Regions from separate parts of the Homo sapiens genome. Here all the other regions are linked to region 4. The links are contacts of gene promoters, found by promoter capture Hi-C in human tissues and cell types (Jung and others, 2019). All regions are on one chromosome and are shown on one strand. Each heading gives the region's core, a stretch centred on a gene start or on the middle of the fragment in contact. The rest is flanking DNA. Distances are from core to core; before and after follow the strand shown. Region 1 has its middle 89 kb from the start of ZFP64. Region 2 overlaps NFATC2 (nuclear factor of activated T cells 2). Region 3 has its middle 130 kb from the start of ZFP64. Region 4 holds the start of SALL4 (spalt like transcription factor 4).

Region 1 (3,443 bases), core at 260-2,759, 300 kb after region 4:
TAACCTTTCTGAGCTTCAGTTTACTCGTTTGCAAAAGGAGATTACATGCCTCAGAGTTGCAGAGTTAAACAAGATGAAAAAATATATAAGTTCTCAGTACAGTGTCATCTGAGTAAATACAATTGCGTGGCTTCAGATGTCGCAAGTGAGGACTACAGATTTCACATCCTAGCAGTTGTGCTCGAAGCCCCTTAACAAGTGATCTAGTCCAGTGGCTCTCAACTGGGGGCCATTCTACCACCAAAGGACACTCAGCAATGCCTGGGAACATTTTCAATTGTCATGATTCTGTTTGCATGCATGTTTGAGAATGGCATCTAGTGGGTGAAGGCCAGGGATGCTGCTAGACATCCTATAGGGCATAGGACAGCCCCCACAAGGAAACGATGCAGCCCCAAAGGTCAATAGGGCTGGGGTTGAGAAAGTCTGCAGTAGTCCTACTCCCAATGTTTCTTCCAAGTGTAATCCTGATACTATCTGTGTCACAATCACCTAGATCATGGGTTCAGTGTAGTTTCCCAGGCCTTACCCTATACTCACTGAAAACTTAGGGGCAGGAGGAGGGGTGGTAGTGTGGATCAAGTAAGGACTTGCGATTCCAGGGACTTGCGATTTTTTTTTGAGACAAGGTCTCGCTGTCACCCAGGCTGGAGTGCAGTGGCACCAACATGGCTCACTGCAAACTCCGCCTTCCAGGCTCAAGCCATCCTCCTACCTCAGCCTCCCGAATAGCTGGGACCACAGGCATGCACCACCACATGCCTAGTTTTTGTATTTTTGTATTTTTTTGTAGTTTTGTATTTTTTGTAGTTTTGTTTTTATAGAGACAGGGTTTTGCCATGTTGCCCATGCTGGTCTCAAACTCCTGAGCTCGAGCAATCTGCCCACCTTAACCACTCAAAAGTGCTGGGATTACAGGCATGAGCCACCACACCTGACCTCAGGGCCTTGCATTTTTGAAGCACTTGCCAGATGATTCTGCTGTATTACTTGTAAGTCCTTGCTACTCAAAGGGTGGTCCCTAGAGCACCAGCATCACCTGAGAGCTTGTTAAAAATGCAGAGTCTCAGCCGGGTGCCGTGGCTCATGCCTGTAATCCTAGCATTTTGGGAGGCTGAGGCAGGCGTCCCATCCTGGCTAACACAGTGAAACCTGTCTCTACTAAAAATACCAAAAAAAAAAAAAAAAAAAAAATTAGCCAGGTGTGGTGGCATGTGCCTGTAATCCCAGCTACTCAGGAGACTGAGGCAGGAGAATCGCTTGAACCTGTGGGGCAGAGGTTGCAGTGAGCCCAGATCGTGCCACTGCACTCCAGCCTGGTGAGAGTAACTCCATCTCCAAAAAAAAAAAAAAAAAAGGCAGCAGTCTCAGGCCCTACTCCAGACTTACAGAACCAATCTGTACTTTAGCCAGATCCCCAGGTGATTCCTGAGCACAGCACATTACAATTTGAGAAGCACAGCTCACAGCCAGTGGTTCTCAGACGTCAGCGTGTATCAGAATTGCCTAGAAGGCTACTTAAAACACAGGTGGCAGGGGCTCCCATTTGGAGTTCCTGATTGAGTAGGTATGGGGTGGAGCCTGCGATTTTTCACTTCTAACAAGTTCCCAGTTGATGCCGATGCTGGTCTGGGAACCATACTTTTGAGTCTCTTGCTCTGTGAGCAAGAAACTGGCTCAGATGCTCAAGGTTGCAGGACTGGAAGTTTTCAGCTCATTGGAACCCACACTTGCCAGATCTGCAACCCATCCTATGTCCCTCAGGGACAGACACAAACAAAGCCTCATTACATAGCAACTCACATACTAGAAGAGAAAACCATTAAACTCTTGAGGGTTTTAATTCCACAGAAGTCAAGCAAGACTGAAAACAAATCTAAGTGAGGCACTGTATAACACAGTGGTTTGGGGAACAGACTGGGAAACCAGCTGATAAGTTTCAATTCCAGTTTTACCATTAGCTGTGTCCCACTGGATAAGCTACTCAACTTCCCCGTTCCTCAGTTTCCACATCTGTGAAATGGGTATTATGGCCGTCTCATTAGCTTAGATGAAGTTCTTTAGTATATGTAAGAGAACCTCATGTATTAGTCAATACTGTATAAATGCTATTAGTGTTATTCACTGATATACACACGTAAGATTCTACCAGATTCTCAGGGGGAGAAAGATGCATGTTTTCAACGCAAACTAGAAAAGTGAGAGAGAGGTGGGTTAAAGGATGACCCAGATAGAGCCTCTGATGGGGAGGTGTGAGGGGCCTCCGATTTCTTTTACGTTTAGACACCCAGGAAACCAAAGAAGGCCTGAAGCCCACTCTCCTGGGAAAGGTGCAGCTGGGGGAGACCCTCTGCCTCTGGAAGTGGGGGTGGGCCGCATTTGACTATTAGAAACCAGGTTAGCATGGCGAGGGTTTTAACTCCTGGGGAAACGGATGATGTTCCCTCAGTAAGGTTCCTCCAGCCCCTTCGTCATTTTACTGGTGGTGACAGGAAGTCCACTAATTACTTTCCATTTTATTTTCCTCCAAAAGCTACTTGAGTTGCAAAGACACTTGCAAATTAAGAGTGGCCCAACCTTCGTAAAAAATGTACCCCCTTGCCAGTGTCGCAGACCAAAGGTACTAGGATAAAACGTCAGTTGGAAGACGGTTTTTTCTCCGAAGTGGTGGCTGGGGTTGAGGCACACTACTGGGCCGGCAGAGTTTGCGTCCTGCTCCCACAGAAGTCACCTCAGTACTCCAGGACGCACGACACCCTCCCCATGCCCGAAACACTGGGTGCGGCTCCAGAAGGCGCCTCGCAGCGCTGGCTGCAGGAATCCAAAGTAGCTCAGTGCACAGACTTTCAACTCCAGCCTGGGGTTACTCAGCAATTCTCTTCTATAAACACCTCCCCCAAAAGACTCAGCATCCCCAGTACCTCCCCAACTTCCCCGAGGCGCAGAGATCAGCAAGAGCCCCGCCCCTCGACCCAGGGGACGGGATCCTGTAAGTCTCACCTGCCTATCTCCATCCCAGGCCTCGGGCACGAGGGTGGTTGTACTATCCTGGTTATGGTAGCTCCACTCGAGCAAGCTTTATTTTAACATATAAGCTATTCGTTTAGTGGAGGCTTCATTAAACTACTCCCCTCCACCACCACCTCGGGAAGTTGTGGTCAAAACCCACCAGACCGACTGTGGTGGAAGTTGATGCGGAAGCTGGAGAGCCCGCGGCTCTGGAGGGGTGAGCCGCCCCGGAGAGGGGACCCATCCTCCTTTCCGCGCCCGGAAAGAGCGGGGGAGAAGAGGAAGTCCAGTTACAACTCCTTTCCTCAGCCCCTTAAAGGAAAGGTATCAGCTAACCACGGGGAGCTGGCAGCCTAAGAGAAAGTAGGAACCTACAATCTCTTAATCTAAGCACAAGATAAGCAAAAAGGGAAGCGCCTTAGAAATGCAGATTC
Region 2 (3,370 bases), core at 221-2,720, 410 kb before region 4:
CCAGGCTCAGGGCTGAAGTCAGCATAATTCTTGAGCAAGAAAAAGGTGATTCCTTCTTCCACAAAGCCATTCCTTCTCCTGAGATGCCATCTTCTAGAGAGGTGACTAACAGGCTCTGAGTGGGGGTTTTATTATATGGGTTTTTGTTTCCTGGAATGAGTAACAAATGTTTCAAGAATACATCATTTCTCTTAAGAAAAAAAAATCAACCTATGTGTAAAAAGAGACACTTAAAAAGATTTCTGACCATTTATAAATATAAATCTAATTCCAACAGGGGTGTAATATTTTGAGGACAGGTAAAAAGCATAAAAATACAGGTAAGAAAATAAAATTTAATAACATACTAATCTGGATTGCTATACATATTATCAAGCAGCAGCATCTTTGTACAATACAGGAAGACTTGCAAACTTTGGAAATATACTACATTCAGCAACACGGTAGACCTGTCAGAGTGCTACATATTTACATTAACTTAGATGTAGCAGTGCAAACCTTCACTCAACTGAGATCCTTCTAACACACGTGCAACACACCCATCTTTACCATTTAGACACCCCTACTTTCTCATTCTCTTAGAGGATCTTATTGCCTCTTCCCGTACTGGAAATATTTCATGAGCCATCCTTCTTGGCAAAATTTCCTCCTAGCATTTGTAACTGACAAAACTTCCTTGATAGCTGTCAGTTCCTAATACACTTTCTCTTGCCTGTTTATGTCTCAAATCTAATGCTTTTGTTTCTCTTTCCTTTGCGATTTGTTACAGTTGTTTATGAAAGTGCTTCCTATAATATCCAGCTAAGATGTCTTAGAAAAACAGAGGGGTTTATTTGTGTGTGTATTACACACACACACGCGTACAGGAGGTTGAGCTACCAGGAGGCCGTTTTTGCTAACATAGTTAGAAAACTGATGGAAAATGCATTAGTCCTTTTTCACCCTGTGGACAAGGAAGCTGAGCTACTTTGCTACAATAGCAGGAAGGCACTTGGGTAAAACATTCAGATAACTGAGGAAAGCCCAAATTCCCTCATGTACAAAAAACAGCTCCTAGCCAGTCCTAGCCAGGTCGAGTGAGAACAAATCACTCACCACACACTCTTGGCTTTTCCCCAGTGAAGTCAATATTGCTGGAGAGAAAATTCTTTAGGTGAAGCTGCTAGTATAAGGAACTTATAATAAGGAACTTATTTTGTTCATGAGGAAGTATTTAGCATCCCAGAAGTTCCATGGTAGGGGTCAACCTCTTACTGGCATTCTGTTTATTTAAAAGAGAATTTTGCTAAACTCTTTGAGCTTAGGGTGGGTGAGGGAAAGGTCGTTCATTGTCAGGGAAAAATAAATGCTAGGTATCGACCGACAGGTTGCATACAAGTGCACAGGCCCGAATCTGAGCATTTTGCCTTCTATCTGGAGTGCCAAACACACCTGGCCCCACTCCCAGGAAGCTTTTACCTCTGGGTAACCTTGACGGGAGAGCCAGGACTTACAAAGCCCACAGTGGGCACTGAGTGGCCATGACTTTCTTCTGAGGCCTTCTGCCTACAGACTGTACAGACTGGACTGAGAAAACACTCTAAGTACAGTCTGAGTGCTAAGAATATTTTCACTTTGCTGCGGATTATTGAGGAAACAACTGAATGGCTGAAAAATGAATCCCCCGCTTGTCCTGGGGTATCTGCAGTACATGCAAACAGAAACAAACACATCTGCCAAGAACTTCAAGGGTTTTGTTTGTAAAAATCACAAAAATCACACCCACAGAGGAAGACTAGGGGAGACTGGGTGCGCTCAGTGGAAACAGTTGGGAGGAAGGAAATCACATATAACATGCAACCGAATAGAGCTCATTCAAAGTAAAGGATGCATTCGAGTAGATTTCTTCATGTTAGAATTTGAGTGCGGATAGGTCTTCAGGGGCAGAAGGGATCTTTAAATAGGTTCAGGTCAAATTAACCAGTGAAGCTGGGAAGCACATCCTGAGCTCGGCTGTCCCACTTAGAGGGAATTCAGCCCTTTTCCTCTATCTTGGTAGAAACCCACCTCCAGAAGCACTTGGGCTGTTTTACTTAACAAAAATACCCACACTTCTTTTCTTGGTTGCTTTAGCCCTTCTGCTATTCCTCAATTAAATGCACATGCTTGAGATTCTCCACCGCTTTACGGAAAAGCACTCTGGCTGCTAGGAAGAAAGCAAGCCGGAACCTTGCAAAGCATCCAGGTTGTACAGCTGCAGCAGACAGGTGCTTGCTCTCTGCAGCCTGGGTCAGCCCCCCAAGTCTATGGAAATTGTGTTAGCAGGACTGCGTGCTGCAGGGGTTAAAGAACAGCTCGCCAAGACAGCTCCAGGGCTAGGTGCCCTGGTCAGCCTTTTAAAGCAGAAAAAATAATAATAACAAACGCGTATACATGTCATAACTTAACGCCAAGAAGTCTTAACAGGTGATCTTGTCTGGGCAAGACAGTTTGGTTTTGGAATGAGAATTCAAAAATAAAGCTTTAGCTGTGGCCCAGTTGTGGCATGGACTGGGCGAGCTCTAAGGACTGACAGTTCAGTTTCTGTCTCTATCGAGGGTTTTGGGTTTCTTCAGCCTGTAAGCTGGGCTCTTGGGTCACGTTCCTTTGGTTGCTCTGAGAACTCCTTGCCTTCAAAAGGTACAGGAGCTGTATCTGTGACCTGGAAAAACGAACGCAAGGGCTGGGGTTTAATCACAGTGCCCACATCTTCTGTCCCCCGTCCATCCCCCCAAGCTCCAGTCACTCTGTTCTCAGGAGAGTTCCAGTGTCCTGTCTCATGTAGAATGTGCTTTTGGTCAGCAGGTGCTTACTATTTGGACGGAACACCATTAAGATCAACCAGGATGCTCTCTGGGATTTAAAACATAAACCGAAAAGAAGAGTTCTCTCTGGTGTTTAGAGGGAGGTGGCGAGCTCCTTAAGTGAGAGTCCGCTTAGTGCCCATACATTGATCCGCGTGTGGACTCCGGGCTGGGAGATGAACATGAAAGGAGACAGAAGGTGAGGGGCTGTGGAGGGCTCCGAGGGGTCAGATACAGAAGGTGTCTTGCTATAATGGCTTCTTTTACGTCTGATTTCTGGCAGGAGGTCCTGAAAACTCCTTCCTGATAATTTCATTAACTACAAAAGAAAAGAGGAGGGGGGGGGAGAGAGAATGGGGCAAGTGAGAGGGCACCGAAAACATGCATCAGGTTCACTTTCTAGAACCTCTATTGGGCTATTGATTTTTGAGACAAGGTCTTGCTCTGTCACCCAGGCTGGAGTGCAATGGCATGATCATGGCTCCTTGCAGCCTCAGCCTCCCGAGTAGCTGGGACTACATACAGGTGCACGCCACCACACCTGACTA
Region 3 (3,301 bases), core at 160-2,659, 260 kb after region 4:
CAAGATGTTTAACAAGATGGATGTGACTTGAATGGTCTCTGGTTTTGGTGTCAACCAAGTAGGAAATACTGTCATCAGGTTCTTGTGTATCTTTCCAGAGATATTGATGAACATATGAATAAACACTCATTCATACTTTTTTGATCTGCAAATGGTAACATACTGTGTGTTCCATTCTGCATTTTTTTTCTGTCTATATAGCTTTAGCTATGGCCATGTCATATATCTATAAAGCAAGTCTGTGTTTATGTGTGTGTGTATATATACATAGACTTGTTTATATATATAAGTGTGTGTGTGTGTGTATTTTTTTTTTTAGAGCCAGGGTCTTTCTCTGTCATCCAGGCTGGAGTGCAGTGGCACAATCATGGCTCACTGTGGCCTCAATCTTCTGGGCTCAAGCAATATTCTCATCTTGGCCTCCCAAGTAGCCAGGACTATAGATATGCATCATCATGCCCAGCTAGTTTTTAAATTTTTTGTAATGACAAGGTCTTGCTATGTTGTCCAGGCTGGTCTCAAACTCCTGAGCTCTAGCGATCTTCCAACCTCACCCTCCCAAAATGCTGGGATTACAGGCATGAGCAACCACACCCAGCTGCTTTATATTTTTTAATATACAGCTTTTAATGTTTTCAATGAATTCCATGGAGTGAATTTAGCCAGGCTCCTCCCTATTTAGAAACATTTAAGTGGTTTTCAATCTTTTGCCTTTACAATCAGTGCTATCATGAATAACCTTCACAAATATTATTTTGCTCATCTCTGAGATTATCTTAGAAAAAAATCCACAATTTTTCAAGACTAGTTATAATATAAAAATGCCTCCTTCCAATAGCTTAAGAAGTATGTTTCCTAAAATTGAAACTGACAGAGTGATCCTCTTGGGTCACCTTTGTGCGGGATTCTTGTCCAGCTTCCACTTCTCTAACTTCAACCTTAGCCAACTCCAATGACTGACTACAAATCTCATCTTGTTATTTCTTTTCTGAATCCTGAAGCCCAACTGATTGCTACTTTTCCTGAAATGACAGAGAAGGAAAAAACCAGCAGGTATTGAGAATTTACCCTGTGCAGGCACTGGACCAGGAGCATTTATATATTATCTCCTGGAGACTTCACAGTAACTTCATGAGCTTGGTGTTTTTTAAAACTAAGAAAACTGAGGGGCTGGGCACAGTGACTGATGCCTGTAACACTCTGGGAGGGCGAGGTAGGAGAATCACTTGAGGCCAGGAGTTTGAGACCAGCCTGGGCAACATAGTGAGACCCCATCTCTACAAAATATAAAAATTTAGTTGGGTGTGGTGACATGCACCTGTAGTCCTAGCTACTCAGGAGGCTGAGGCAGGAGGATTGCTTGAGACCAGGAGTGAGGTTGCAGTGAGTGGTGATTGCATCACTGCACTCCAGTCTATGCAGCAGAGCAAGATCCTGCCTCTAAAAAAGAAAAAAATTAAAAATTAAAAATAAGACAGAAAATAAAGAAAAAGAAAACTGAGGTTCTGCAAGGTTAAGTCACTTGCCCTAAGTCACACAGCTGGTAGCTGGCGGGGAGAGGGACTCAGTTTCAGGTCTGAGTCCAGGGATTCATCCAGTATCTCTGGACTACTACAATATACATGCAGACCATCCAAGCCAACACTGTCTTGAATACTTTTAAAGCTTTTAATTTTGGACATTTATTTATTATTTATTTATTTATTATTTTGAGACGGAGTCTCCCTCTGTCTCCCAGGCTGCAGTGCGGTGGCGCGATCTTGGCTCACTGCAACCTCTGCCTCCAGTGTTCAAGTGATTCAGCCTCCCGAGTAGCTGGGAATACAGGTGTGCACCATCACGCCTGGCTAATTTTTGTATTTTTAGTAGAGACGGGGTTTCACCATGTTGGCCAGGCTGGTTTCGAACTCCTGACTTCAAGTGATCCTCCTGCCTCGGCCTCCCAAAGTGCTGGGATTACAGGCATGAGCCACTGTGCCTAGCCAATTTTGGATTACTTTAAATTTATGGAAATATTGCAAAGATAGTACAGAGAGTTCCTGCATATGCTTCACCCAGCTTCTCCTGATGTTAGCATCTTAGGTAACCATGATATATTCATCGAAACTAAGAAATTAACATTGATACAACACTATCAACTAAACTAGAGGTTTTATTTGTACTTTGCCAATTTTTTCACGAATGTCCATTTTTCTTCTCCGGGACCCAATCCAGAATACCACGTTGCCTGTAGAATCTTGTACTATTTTAAATTTTTTCTTTCCTGTATGTCTTAGCCCCCCAACTACTTCTGGAGAGCAGAAATATTACGGAACGTTTCTGTTGAGTCTATCCTAGAGCCCTAGAGACAGTGCTGGACCCACAACAGGAAGTCAATCATGATGTGATATGATTTATCCAGCTTGGTCTGATTTGTCAAGGTTCTGGTTGTAGAAGGAAACAGAAAGTTCCATGGCTCTGGAATATCAGGTGTGCTAATGAACAGCTTGTAAAGCTGGGTGGGGGACATCAGCGCCTTGTCACCTTGTCTGCCAGGCGCTGGAGGAAGTGGGAGATTTGTTCATAACACCGGGTCATTTCCTCCCTTCCTGTCCTGACCTCCCAGCTTTTCCCTGACAGCCAGTGGAAGCCATGGCCCAAGTCATTTAGTGACATCTTAAGGTGAGGCAAAGAACTGACAGGGAGCGCTGGCCCTAAACTCAGACGGGAACTTCCAAATCCAGATCCCCCTCCTTAGAGGGGTTGCCACCTGGAAACAGGAGAAATCTAGACCCTTAATAAAAAGAACATTTTGCTGTGTAATTTCACCCCATTCCCACAACCATCTGCTACCTACTATCCATAATGGAGTTTTTAAAAAATATGCGAGTTTCATTCACTTATACATTCAACAAACATTTACTGATACCTCCTGCATTTCAGACAGATTTAGGAGCTAGGTATAGGCAGTAAATGAAAGAGTCCTGACCCCTATCCTATCAATAGTACAGGAAATAGGCAAGTGAACTGCTAACCAATTGTGCTAAGTGTTACACTCATTTATTTATTTATTTATTTATTTAATTTTTAACTTTTTTTAAAGCGTGATTTTTGTTTTTGTTTTTGTTTTGAGACAGAGTCTTGCTCTGTTACCCAGGCTGGAGTGCAGTGGCACGATTTTGGCTCAACGCAACATCTGCCTCCTGGGTTCAACTGACTGTCATGCTGCAGTCTCCCAGGTAGCTGGAATTACAGGCACCTGCCACCACTCCCAGCTAATTTTTGTATTTTTAGTAGAGACAGGGTTTCACCATGTTGGCCA
Region 4 (3,365 bases), core at 42-2,541:
GATGAAGTGGGAACAGAGTTGGCCCCGCCGTTCCTGGCGCGGCTGGGGTCCCGAACTCCCCTCGATCTGGGAAACGCTGGCCGCGGAAGCGTGGGCCAGGTCAGCCGCGGGAGTTCGCTCTGGCCCCCCACCTCTCCCCTTTCACACCCAAGCGCAAATGTGGAAAGCCGAGCGCTCCAGAAAAGCCACGCAAAACGGGAGGCCGGTGCACCCCAGTGGGGCTGCCGCGCGCCCGCCACCCCGGCCACTGGGGGCTCGCACCCTCGGGCTTGCCGCGGTTATTTTTAGGAAGTCGGAAATCAAAGATGGCTGGAGGTCAGGCCCCGAAAGGTTAGGGCGAAGATCGGCAGGCGGCGCAGCCCGGGCAGAAAAGGCGAAATCCAGAAAAGAAAAAAATTTTAAAGGGAAACATTGAGCCCTCCTCCCCCACCTCTCTGGGCCCTCCAATCCCCTGCGCAGCGCGGGTGGCCCGCACCCCAGCTCCTGAGGGTGGGGAGAGGTCGCGCCCCCTCCCCCCACTTGGCCCGGGAGGGGCGCGTGCAACAGATCGTCCTCCTCCGGGGGGTCTTCCAGGGGTGCGCCCCTCCTCCAGCCTCCAAGAAAAGCCCCAAGGGGCTGGTGGAGAGGGTGGGGATCCCCCGGGGTTCTTTCTTTTGAGAGCGACGCGAGGGAGGGGGACCTAAGTTACAAGGGGGGGGGGTAACACCAGTGAGGGGAGTGGAACCAATTAAGTGAGGGGCAGAGGACAAGGAGAAGGGAACCTTTCGGGAGCGAGAACAGAGGAGCGAGTGGGGGTCAATTTTACAATTAGGGGAGAAAGCTGGGGGTGAAACTTACACAAGAGGGGAGAAGAGGAAAAAAGTGTGAAATGTGCAAAAGGCGGGGTGGTGGGGAGAGGAGGAGACCTCTCCTCCCGGGCACTGAGCCCCCAAATCTCGGCTCCTGAATTTGCGCTGGACGCCGCCCGCTCCCCGAAGCCTGCGCCCTCGAGGATCCCGCGTACGTCCGGGAAGCTCCCCTCCCCGGGCGGGCGCCCCAGCCCCACTCACCCAGCTCCCCCGCCGCGGGCGCCGCTGGGGCCGCATCTGCAAACTCCGGGGTCTGCTGCTGCGGCTGCTGCTCGCCCTGGTCCTCCTCCGAGTTGATGTGCTGGGGTTTCGCCTGCTTGCGCCTCGACATGGTGCGAGCATCGGGGCGCCGGGAGAGCCGCAGTTATTTGCCCTCTCCGCCACAAATTCCTGGAGTTGGGAAATTTACCCCCCTTCGGCCGGAACGCGCATGTCCCAGTAATTATTATTATCAATAATGCATTGCGATTTATCATGAGCCCTGACAGCTGATTGGCCTGGGTCCAAGACCTCAGAGATCATTTAAATAAGCCCTCATTGATCAGGGAGGGGTGAGGCATTCTGGGCTTTGTAGTCCGGGCCTACTTGTGACAAAGGCGTGTTCATCAGGGGAGCGCAGCTAATTAGCATCCGGGCTCAGATTGGCTGGGGCGGGGACGAAATCAGAGGGGGACCCATCCTTGCTCCAGCTATCTCAGTCCTTGGAGAGGAAAAGAAAATGGGGAGAAATGCGTACTCATTAAAAAGTAGGAGCTTACGTAGAAGTTTTGGAACGGCTTTATTTGGTAGTTACTTGCTCCAAAGATTACTTGGTAAGGTTGATGTCCACCAGCCGAGAAGGGAGATCTCTTCACAGTGGAATATTTTGGCTCAGTTTTCACATCTACACGCACACACATTCCCCCAAACCTGAGATGTGACCCGTGTCCCCTCCCATCTTTTTGATTAAAAATGTTTAAGTTGAGTCTCGAGATAACTGAAGAATGATGAATGGTGGTGTTTTCAGCCCTCCCACCCATCTCAACTCTTAAAGTGAGCTCGGAACTTCCAAAATTTCAGATACCCCACCACCACCATGACTTACCTCCTTTAAAAGCTGATTAATAGCCTCCAGGATTCCTGTTCACAAAGACTGGTTTGTGGTTACAATGCAAACCTTGATTTTTTTTTAACTTCAAAATGACTGGCTACTAAATATAGAAATGGCAAATGATAAGCAAGCATAGTCAGAGATAATATCAAAACAGCAAGCAATTGCATTTTTTTCCCCAGGAGCCATAAATGCCTGATAACATCATATTTTATTACTGAGACAATGCTCTTGCATCTCCCATGGAATGGCAATGGGGCACTGTCACAGTATCTGGTTGTTACTAATCACTATTGGAATTTTTTTGTGCAATACACACATTATTACAGAAAAGGTGTATCGTTCAAAGTGATTGTATCATTGACACATGATGCCTGGAATTTTTTAAAGTGGGGCTTGTGTGTGTGTATATGATATATTACATGTATACACATTTATACCGTAAATTCATGTATACTTAATTTGGCTAACTGCTTTACACAATGTACATGCTCAATAAATGTTAAATGAATGATGAAATCATCAACCTGCTAAGTCTTTGATTGGTCTTTCCATAACTGCTCTGGGCATGCGTCTTTGTTTGGCATTTACTTCATTGTAAGGGACTGTGCAGATATAAACCCTCCCTCCACATTTGTGCATTGCATTCTCTTGATTAGTTATTCATCACGTTCCCAGCTTGTAAACTCATCAGGAATACAAGCAAAATGGAATGCTGGGCTCATCAATGTGTTCACCTGGGTATTTGGACAACCCAAGGCAGAAAATAAATCAGCTTGATCATCTTTTTTATATTCGTGGCCATCAGTAAAAACTTGTTGAAGGAAGATTAACCTTCAATTTTTGAGTCTCTGAAAAAGTCTTGCCTTATTTTATGTATAATATTTAAAGCAAGTAAGACAGAATTATAGCCAACAGCCAGATTGAAAAGGTAAGAATTTGGTTTAATAATACATAGAAGCAGTTTAGAATTCTGATACTGAGTAAAAAGGCCAATTAGCACCTGCCTTGCTGACTAATCTACTAATATTCTCAACACCTTTTCTGTGTAAGATAGTGTGGCAGGAGATCTAACTTACAAATCTAAACGAATGTGCAGTGGGTTTATGGCTCAAAAAATACTATTGGGTTAAGGAAAATTTCATTTATATAGTTGTTTATATTTATTTTAGTAGATGATAGTTGTAACATGTTAGCCTTACTACGAGACAAAATTGTGCCGCTTGACTCTCCAAGTGATAGTAATAATAATAATTGATTGAGCCCCTTGTACATGCCACAGACTGCATTAAATGAATGCACACCGCCTTGTTTTATCTTCCCATGGAGGTTGGCCCTATTGTCCTCTCCATTTTGAAACTGAGGCTCAAAGACATGAAGTGACTTAATTAGAAACTGGCTGAGCTGGTGGTCAGTTTCTAAGCCGG

What was found. Contacts are between HindIII fragments. The study calls those that stand out against the background at their distance.
Region 1: a fragment that was not itself captured here is called in contact with the fragment with the promoter of SALL4 in region 4 in 2 of the 25 tissues and cell types used here (mesendoderm cells and spleen).
Region 2: a fragment that was not itself captured here is called in contact with the fragment with the promoter of SALL4 in region 4 in 1 of the 25 tissues and cell types used here (spleen).
Region 3: a contact is called between a fragment that was not itself captured here and the fragment with the promoter of SALL4 in region 4, in 2 of the 25 tissues and cell types used here (H1 embryonic stem cells and spleen).

Annotation. Positions count from the first base shown.
Region 1 is chr20:52,100,769-52,104,211 of GRCh38, forward strand. It overlaps a transcript of ZFP64 not described here. Among named protein-coding and RNA genes, the nearest start is that of ZFP64, 89 kb to the right of the region's middle. The HindIII fragment of the contact is 5,658 bases long and covers 1-3,443 here.
Region 2 is chr20:51,388,311-51,391,680 of GRCh38, forward strand. NFATC2 (nuclear factor of activated T cells 2) reads right to left here. Exons shown (of 11, transcript NM_012340.5): 11 at 1-3,141. All of the region lies in intron 2 of LOC105372663 (a long non-coding RNA gene), which reads left to right. Among named protein-coding and RNA genes, the nearest start is that of MIR3194, 63 kb to the right of the region's middle. The HindIII fragment of the contact is 4,969 bases long and covers 1-3,370 here.
Region 3 is chr20:52,058,638-52,061,938 of GRCh38, forward strand. No RefSeq gene overlaps it. Among named protein-coding and RNA genes, the nearest start is that of ZFP64, 130 kb to the right of the region's middle. The HindIII fragment of the contact is 3,148 bases long and covers 1-2,983 here.
Region 4 is chr20:51,801,230-51,804,594 of GRCh38, forward strand. SALL4 (spalt like transcription factor 4) reads right to left here and starts at 1,292. Exons shown (of 4, transcript NM_020436.5): 1 at 1,050-1,292. The coding sequence starts at 1,179. RefSeq lists enhancers at 1-353, 997-1,638. The HindIII fragment of the contact is 8,319 bases long and covers 1-3,365 here.